Linked DNA regions of Homo sapiens: region 1 is linked to region 2. The links are contacts of gene promoters, found by promoter capture Hi-C in human tissues and cell types (Jung and others, 2019). All regions are on one chromosome and are shown on one strand. The core of a region is centred on a gene start or on the middle of the fragment in contact, and the rest is flanking DNA. Distances in the headings are between cores, read along the strand shown. Region 1 has its middle 36 kb from the start of C12orf71. Region 2 holds the start of C12orf71 (chromosome 12 open reading frame 71).

Region 1 (3,970 bases), core at 212-2,711, 37 kb before region 2:
TGAACCTAGGTCATTCTAAAAAATTTACTCACACACTCAGCCAGTGCACCATCCAAAGAAGTAGGACACACATTTAATAACCACACTCCAGTATGGGAAACTCAAAACATGAAAACTGAGAGCATAAAGGATCAAGCTGAATTACATAATTAAGTGGCTTGCATTCTCTTTCATTTAAAAAGTATTTTGCAGTTCCGTTCCAAGAAGGCCGAATAGGAACAGCTCTGTCTGCAGCTCCCAGCATGATCAATGCAGAAGACGGGTGATTTCTGCATTTCCAACTAAGGTACCTGGTTCATCTCATTGGGACTGGTTGGATAGTGGGTGCAGCCCATGGAGGGCGAGGCAAAGCAGGGCTGGGCATCGCCTCACCCGGGAAGTGCAAGAGGTCAGGGGATTTCCCTTTCCTAGCCAAGAGAAGCCATGACAGACTGTACCTGGAAAAACGGGACACTCTCGCACAAATACTGTGCTTTTCCCATGGTCTTAGCAACCGGCAGACCAGGAGATTCCCTCTCATACCTGGATTGGTGGGTCCCATGCCCACGGAGCCTTGCTCACTGGCTAGCAGCAGTCTGAGATTGACCTGCAAGGCTGTAGCCTGGCTGGGGGAGGGGCGTCTGCCATTGCTGAGGCTTGAGTAGGTAAACAAAAGTAGCCAAGGGAAGCTTGAACTGGGCAGAGCCCACTGCAGCTCAGCAAGGCCTACTGCCTCTATAGACTACACCCCTGGGGGCAGGGCATAGCTGAACAAAAGACAGCAGACTTCCACAGACTTAAACGTCCCTGTCTGAAAGCTCTGAAGAGAGCAGGGGCTCTCCCAGCATGGTGCTTGAGCTCTGAGAATGGACAGACTGCCTCCTCAAGTGGGTCGCTGACCCCCATGTAGCCTAACTGGAAGACATCTCCCAGTAGGAGCTGACAGACACCTCATACAGATGAGTGCCCCTCTGGGATGAAGCTTCCAGAGGAAGGATCAGGCACCAATATTTGCTGTTCTGCAATAATTGCAGTTCTGCAGCCTCTGCTGGTGATACCCAGGCAAACAGGGTCTGGAGTGGACCTCCAGCAAACTCCAACAGACCTGAAGCTGAGGGACCTGACTCTTAGAAGGAAAACTAACAAACAGAAAGGAATAGCATCAACATCAACAAAAAGGACATCTACACCAAAACACCATCTGTAGGTCACCAACATGAAAGACCAAAGGTAGATAAAACCACAAAGATGGGGAGAAACCAGAGCAGAAAAGCTGAAAATTCTAAAAACCAGAGCACCTCTTCTCCTCCAAAGGATCATAGCTCCTCGCCAGCAACAGAACAAAGAATGACTTTGACAAGTTGACAGAAATAGACTTCAGAAGGTTGGTAATAATAAACTTCTTTGAGCTAAAGGAACATGTTCTAACCCATCACAAAGAAGGTAAAAACCTTGAAAAAAGGTTAGATGAATGGCTAACTAGAATAAGGAGTGTAGGGAAGACCTTAAATGACCTGATGGAGCTGAAAACCATGGCATGAGAACTTTGTGATGGATGCATAAGCTTCAATAGCCAATTCCATCAAGTGGAAGGAAGGGTATCAGTGATTAAAGATCAAATTAATGAAATAAAGCAAGAAGACAAGTTTAGAGTTTTTTCTCTAAAAACTCTAAAGTAAAAAGAAACGAACAAAGTAAAAAGAAACAGAAAAGAAACTCTAAAGTAAAAAGAAACGAACAAAGCCTCCAAGAAATATGGGACTATGTGAAAAGACCAAATCTACGTTTGATTGGTGTACCTGAAAGTGATGGGGAGAATGGAGCCAAGTTGGAAAACACTCTGCAGGATACTATCCAGAAGAATTTCCCCAACCTAGCAAGGCAGGCCAACATTCAAATTCAGGAAATACAGAGAACACCACAAAAATACTCCTCGAGAAGAGCAACTCCAAGACACATAATTGTCAGATTCACCAAAGTTGAAATGAAGGAAAATATGTTAAGGGCAGCCAGAGAGAAAGGTCGGGTTACCCACAAAGGGAAGCCCATCAGACTAACAGCTGATCTCTCGGCAGAAACCCTACAAGCCAGAAGAGGGTGTGGGCCAATATTCAACATTCTTAAAGAAAAGAATTTTCAAGCCAGAATTTCATACCAGCCAAACTAAGCTTCATAAGTGAAGGAAAAATAAAATCCTTTACAGACAAGCAAATGCTGAGAGATTTTGTCACCACCAGGCATGCCTTACAAGAGCTCCTGAAGGAAGCACTAAACATGGAAAGGAACAACCAGTACCAGCCACTGCAAAAGCATGCCAAATTATAAAGACCATCAATGCTAGGAAGAAACTGCATCAATTAACGGGCAAAACAACCAGGGAACATCATAATGACAGGATCAAATTCCCACATAACAATATTAACCTTAAATGTAAATTGGCTAAATGCCCCAATTAGAAGACACAGACTGGCAAACTGGATAAAGAGTCAAGACCCATCAGTGTGCTGTATTCAGGAGACCCATCTCATGTGCCAAGACACACATAGGCTCAAAATAAAGGGATGGAGGAAGATCTACCAAGCAAATGGAAAGCAAAAAAAAAAGCAGGGGTTGCAATCCTAGTCTCTGATAAAACAGACTTTAAACCTACAAAGATCAAAAGAGACAAAGTAGGCCATTACATAATGGTAAACGGATCAACTCAACAAGAAGAGCTAACTATCCTAAATATATATGCACCCAACACAGGAGCACCCAGATTCATAAAGCAAGTTCTTAGAGACTTATAAAGAGACTTGGACTCCCACACAATAATAGTGGGAGACTTTAACACCCCACTGTCAACATTAGACAGATCAAGGAGACAGAAAGTTAAAAAGGATATCCAGGACTTCAGCTCTGCACCAAGAAGACCTAACAGACATCTACAGAACTCTCCACCACAAATCAACAGAATATACATTCTTCTCAGCACCACATTGCCCATATTCTAAAATTAATCACATAATTGGAAGTAAAGCACTCCTCAGCAAATGTAAAAGAACAGAAATCACAACAAACTGTCTCTCAGACCACAGTGCAATCAAACTAGAACTCAGGATTAAGAAACTCACTCAAAACTGCACAACTACAAGGAAGCTGAACAACTGGCTCCTGAATGACTACTGGGTAAATAACGAAATGAAGGCAGAAATGAAGATGTTCTTTGAAACCAATGAGAACAAAGACACAATGTACCAGAATCTCTGGGACACATTTAAAGCAGTGTGTAGAGGGAAATTTACAGCACTAAATGCCCAGAAGAGAAAGCAAGAAAGATCTAAAATTGACACTCTAACATCACAATTAAAAGAACTAGAGAAGCAAGAGAAAACAAATTCAAAAGCTAGCAGAAGGCAAGAAATAACTAAGAGCAGAGAAGAACCAAAGGAGATAAAGACATAAAAAACCCATCAAAAATCAATGAATCCAGGAGCTGGTTTTTTGAAAAGATCAACAAAATTGATAGACCACTGACCACTAGCAAGACTAATAAAGAAGAAAAGAGAGAATAATCAAATAGACGCAATAAAAAATGATAAAGGGGATATCACCACCGATCCCACAGAAATACAAACTACCATCAGAGCATGCTATAAACATCTCTATGCAAATAAACTAGAAAATCTAGAAGAAATGGATAAATTCCTCAACACATACACCCTCCCAAGACTAAACCAGGAAGAAGTTGAATCTCTGAATAGGCCAATAACAGGCTCTGAAATTGAGGCAATAATTAATAGCTTATCAACCAAAAAAAGTCCAGGACCAGATGGATTCACAGCCGAATTCTACCAGAGGTACACAGAAGAGCTGGTACCATTCCTTCTGAAATTATTTCAATCAATAGAAAAAGAGAGAGTCCTCCCTAACTCATTTTATGAGGCCAGCACCATCCTGATACCAAAGCCTGGCAGAAACACAACAAAAAAAGAGAATTTTAGACCAATAT
Region 2 (4,348 bases), core at 199-2,698:
GTGGGCAGCCACCAGAGCAGGGTGTGACAGTCTTTTGTTTGTGTGTGTGTGTCTGTGTGTGCGCGCGTGCACGCGTGCATGCACGTGCACATTCTTCCAGCCCTACTTACTCTGGGGCTTCACAGAAAAAGCTGGACTAAACAGTGTCATCAGACGGTGGGAGGATGGGCATCTAAATACCAAAACCTTCTGGAAAGTAATTTGGTATCAACTACCACAAGACTTTAATATATTTATGGGGTTTGGTCCATTAATCCTACATATAGAAAAATAAGAGACATAGTCAAAGATTTATGGAAAAGCGGGTTTATTACAGATTTATTTAGCATTAATAAGAAGTGGTTAAAAATTGCAGAGTAACCATATATATGTTTGTTGTAGGCTATGGGATAAAATAATTTCAGTTTCAACTATATGTCATATCCACATTTACATATATGTATATGTGTATGTGGACATATTGTATAAATGTACAGATATGTATATGTGTGTTTATATAAATAGAAAAGATAAGGAAGTCCATCAAAATGTTTTGATAGTTATCATTATCTTTAGAAGGTAGGACTACAGCATATTTATTTCATCTTCATACTTTCCTATATTTTTCCAATTTTATACAATGATCATCCTTTTCTTTTATGATACAAGATCTTACAACCACAGTAGGACAAATGATGAGAAGTGGAGATGCTTAGTAGAGAGGATTATAATACAATGAAATAAGTTTTAAAAGGGAGAGGGCTGCCTCTTCTGCCCTTCACTGAGAGATTGTAAAAACTGGATAACACTGGCCAGGCCTGGTGGCTCATGCCAGTAATCCCAGCACTTTGGGAGGCCGAGGCAGGTAGATCACGAGGTCAGGTCAAGACCTTTCTGGCTAACATGGTGAAACCCCTTCTCTACTAAAAATACAAAAAATTAGCTGGGCATGGTGGCATGTGCCTGTAGTCCTAGCTACCCGGGAGGCTGAGGCAAGACAATCTCTTGAATCCAGGAGACGGAGGTTGCGGTGAGCTGACATCACACCACTGAACTCCAGCCTGGACAACAGAGCGAGGCTCCATCTCAAAAAAAAAAACAAAAACAAACAAAAACTATTGGATAATACTTCTATCTAAATGGGGTAGTTCTGAATAGAAAAGGGAATGGGGCCGGGTGTGGTGGCTCACACCTATAATCCCAGCACTTTGGAGGCAAAGGTGAGTGGATCACCTGAGGTCAGGAGTTCGAGACCAGCCTGGTCAACATGGTGAAACCCCATCTCTACTAAAAATACAAAAATTAGCCAGGTGTGGTGGCGTGTGCTTGTAGTCCCAGCTACTCGGGAGGCTGAGGTTGCAGTGAGCCAAGATCACACCACTGCATTCCAGCCTGGGAGACAGAGTGAGACTTCGTCTCAAAAAAAAAAAAAGAAAAAAGAGAAGGGAATGGATAATGTTTTTGCTTAAGTACTATGACTCTCTTCTCCTTAGTCCCACCTATTTTTTCTTTTTTCTTTTTTGAAGCTTCTCAAGTTGAGAGAAATTTGTGCCTTTGAACTCCATGGCATATTCATCCTCTAACAGCGACATAGAGGACGACAGCTCCAAATCCAATTCCAACCTGAGCCTCTCTGTGGGCTATTTCCCCTGTGAGGACACCCCCTGTGAGGACACAACCTCCTGGGAAGATGCACCTTCCAAGGGTCCTTCCATCCACTTTCTGCCTCCCGTCCAAGGGGCATGGGGGACTGAAAGGATAGGGAGACGCATGAAGAGACAAGACCAAATTCAGGATGAACCAGAGCAGTTTTGCAAACTAAGCATCTTCCTGGCCTGGGACGTGGACATTGGCTCCGATAACACAGACTCAAGAGCTAATAGGCTTCTAAATGGAGACAACCTGTGGATAGACAAGTTACCAAAAGAGAGAACAAAACTGTCTGTTGGCAAACTGAATAATCTTGTGCAAGAGTTTCAGATATTTCTAGAAAATCTGAAAGATGATGACGCTGTATTTCCTGAAACTGCTCAGCAAGATTTCCAGCTATCCAGCGGCTCCCCTCCGGAAATGGTTCAGGTCAGTCATCAGGAATATGATGCTTGTCAAGACCTGCCCAAGTGCAAGCCACCAGAAAATAAAGATGTTATGTAGTCTCCACAGACTCCTCTAAGGCTTAAGGGACATGAGCTGGCTGAGGAGAGCAGAGATGCCTCACAGGACAGGAAGGGATAGGCCTGGGTTGAACCACAGAATCTTATGACCACTAGGAGGAGGCAGGTCCCAGGGGGACTGACGTGATACCAGTGGGAGACAACAAGGAAAGGAGTCAGGGTGAAGCTGTAGGGAAAAGACTGGGAATGCTGAGGGAAACAAGAGGGTAGCAAGCAAGGAGAAGGGCTAACTATATCTCCCTCCCCACCAAAAACGTATATGTTTAGTATTGATGAGCATTGAAACTCTGCATTGACACTTGGGCTATTTTTGGTAAAAGGATGTGAGTTCCACAAATGAGTAAACGTTGATTTGGCTGTTGTCATGGTTATTCCTACCTAACACATCCTTCATTTTCATGGCAGATGATAAGCCAGGCAACCGCCAGCCAAAGGACAAGCGCTCCAGAGATCTCCTCAATCCTGTCAGAGCAGCCAGAGAAGGATGACACTCCTTCACACACACAGGCCCAGTGCTGCCTGAACTTTGGGTGGGCCTTCAGCTGGCTGAGGCAGCGTATCCTCCCCTCTCTGCTGAGGAGGGATCACCCTGTGAATGCCACCAAAAGTCCCCATCGGTCAGCACCAACGAAAAGACTCTTTCACAGAGGCAAGAGAATTCAACCTCAAGAAACCCTTGAATTAGGACATCCCATATAGACAGATTTTTAAACTTTTTGGAAAGTTTAAAATAATCCATAATAAGGATTCCATTAATAATCCCCATCAGTTTGTTTTTTCCTCAATAAACAAAATAAATGCTCTTGTTACCCCACATCTTCCTCTCCCAGCACACCATCTTGACTCACATTTCAAGCATATGTGGGCCAGGCGCAGTGGCTCACACCTGTAATCCCAGCGCTTTGGGAGGCTGCGGCAGGCAGGTGGATCACCTGAGATCAGGAGTTTGAGACCAGCCAGGCCAACATGGCAAAACCCCATCTCTACTAAAAATACAAAAATTAGCTTGGTGTGGTGGGGGGCGCCTATAATCCCAGCTACCCAGGAGGCTGAGGCAGGAGAATCGCTTGAACCTGGGGGCAGAAGTTGCAGTGAGCTGAGATCACACCACTTCACTCCAGCCTAGGCAAAAGAGCAAAACTCTATCTCAAATAAATAAATAAATAAATAAATAAATAAATAAATAAAAATTAAAGAAAAATTTAAAAAAAGAAAAGAAAGTATATGTGTTGTCTAGAAGACAAATTTATTCTCAGGAAATTTTAAGTAGTATTATGCTTCCTAAACTGAAGTATTCTTTTTCTCTCCTCTCACCCATTCTTACTGTATTTTACCCTAGTTTACCTATTTTATGTGTTTTAACCTATTTTATCACTAACCCAAATCCCCATTTTCAGTAGGCAGCAGCGTGACCCATCAGATTCCTGTGGTGGCAGGATGATTTGGCTTGAACTTGCAGGGCTTGAGTGAGTGGCAGTGGGTATTGAGTCACTGAGGAAATTAATTTCAATTTCAGGAGATCGGACAGCAGTTCTGATATTCTCTGGGTACTTGACAGGTTCCAGCATGTGTTGCCTTGGCTGTAGTAGTGGCCCACTTAGGAGCAATGTGACGACTGTGAACACTTCTTAACCACTCTAAGTCTAGCTGTCTTCATTCAAAAGAAGTGGAAGATAATAATACATACCTCACAGGGTTAGTGTGAGAGTTTATGAGGTAACACAAGCACTTGATAAATATTATTACTGTTGTTGCAAGTAGACATTATCCTGAGGAACTCTCCAGACAACTTGTTCAAGGGATATCCAAGAGTGAGAGTTAATTAAGAGTCAATTCTCATTGAAACATTTCCCACACAGAGCAGTATTTACCAAAAGTTCAGGGTTTTCAGCAAATCTTAACCAAATCCTCTCCCAACCCATTCCATTCTGCCCTCTGAAACTCCTTTGCAATTGTCATTGAACGTTCCACTAAATGTCAACTTCTTTGAGGAAGGCTGCCCTCAGCCTTCTTGTCCTGACTCTCACCTCCCCAGCATCTCTACCATCCTCCTCATTCAACCACAGGTTCACTCAACGTCCTTCTTCTTCTGCTGGCACTACCATCCTGTGTGACCTTCAGAGTTTACGTGGCAAAGCATATGACTCTTCAGTTTCAAATTCCTTCCTTTCCTCAATTTCAATTCTGTATCCCTC

What was found. The method cuts DNA at HindIII sites, captures the fragments that hold promoters and counts their contacts. A contact is called where the count stands out against the background at its distance.
Region 1: a fragment that was not itself captured here is called in contact with the fragment with the promoter of C12orf71 in region 2 in 1 of the 25 tissues and cell types used here (pancreas).

The regions. Positions count from the first base shown.
Region 1 is chr12:27,116,663-27,120,632 of GRCh38, reverse strand. It overlaps the pseudogene LOC124902904. Among named protein-coding and RNA genes, the nearest start is that of C12orf71, 36 kb to the right of the region's middle. The HindIII fragment of the contact is 3,267 bases long and covers 1-3,094 here.
Region 2 is chr12:27,079,678-27,084,025 of GRCh38, reverse strand. It overlaps C12orf71 (chromosome 12 open reading frame 71), which reads left to right and starts at 1,448. Exons shown (of 2, transcript NM_001080406.2): 1 at 1,448-2,058; 2 at 2,559-2,969. The coding sequence starts at 1,543. The coding sequence ends at 2,852. The HindIII fragment of the contact is 8,877 bases long and covers 1-4,348 here.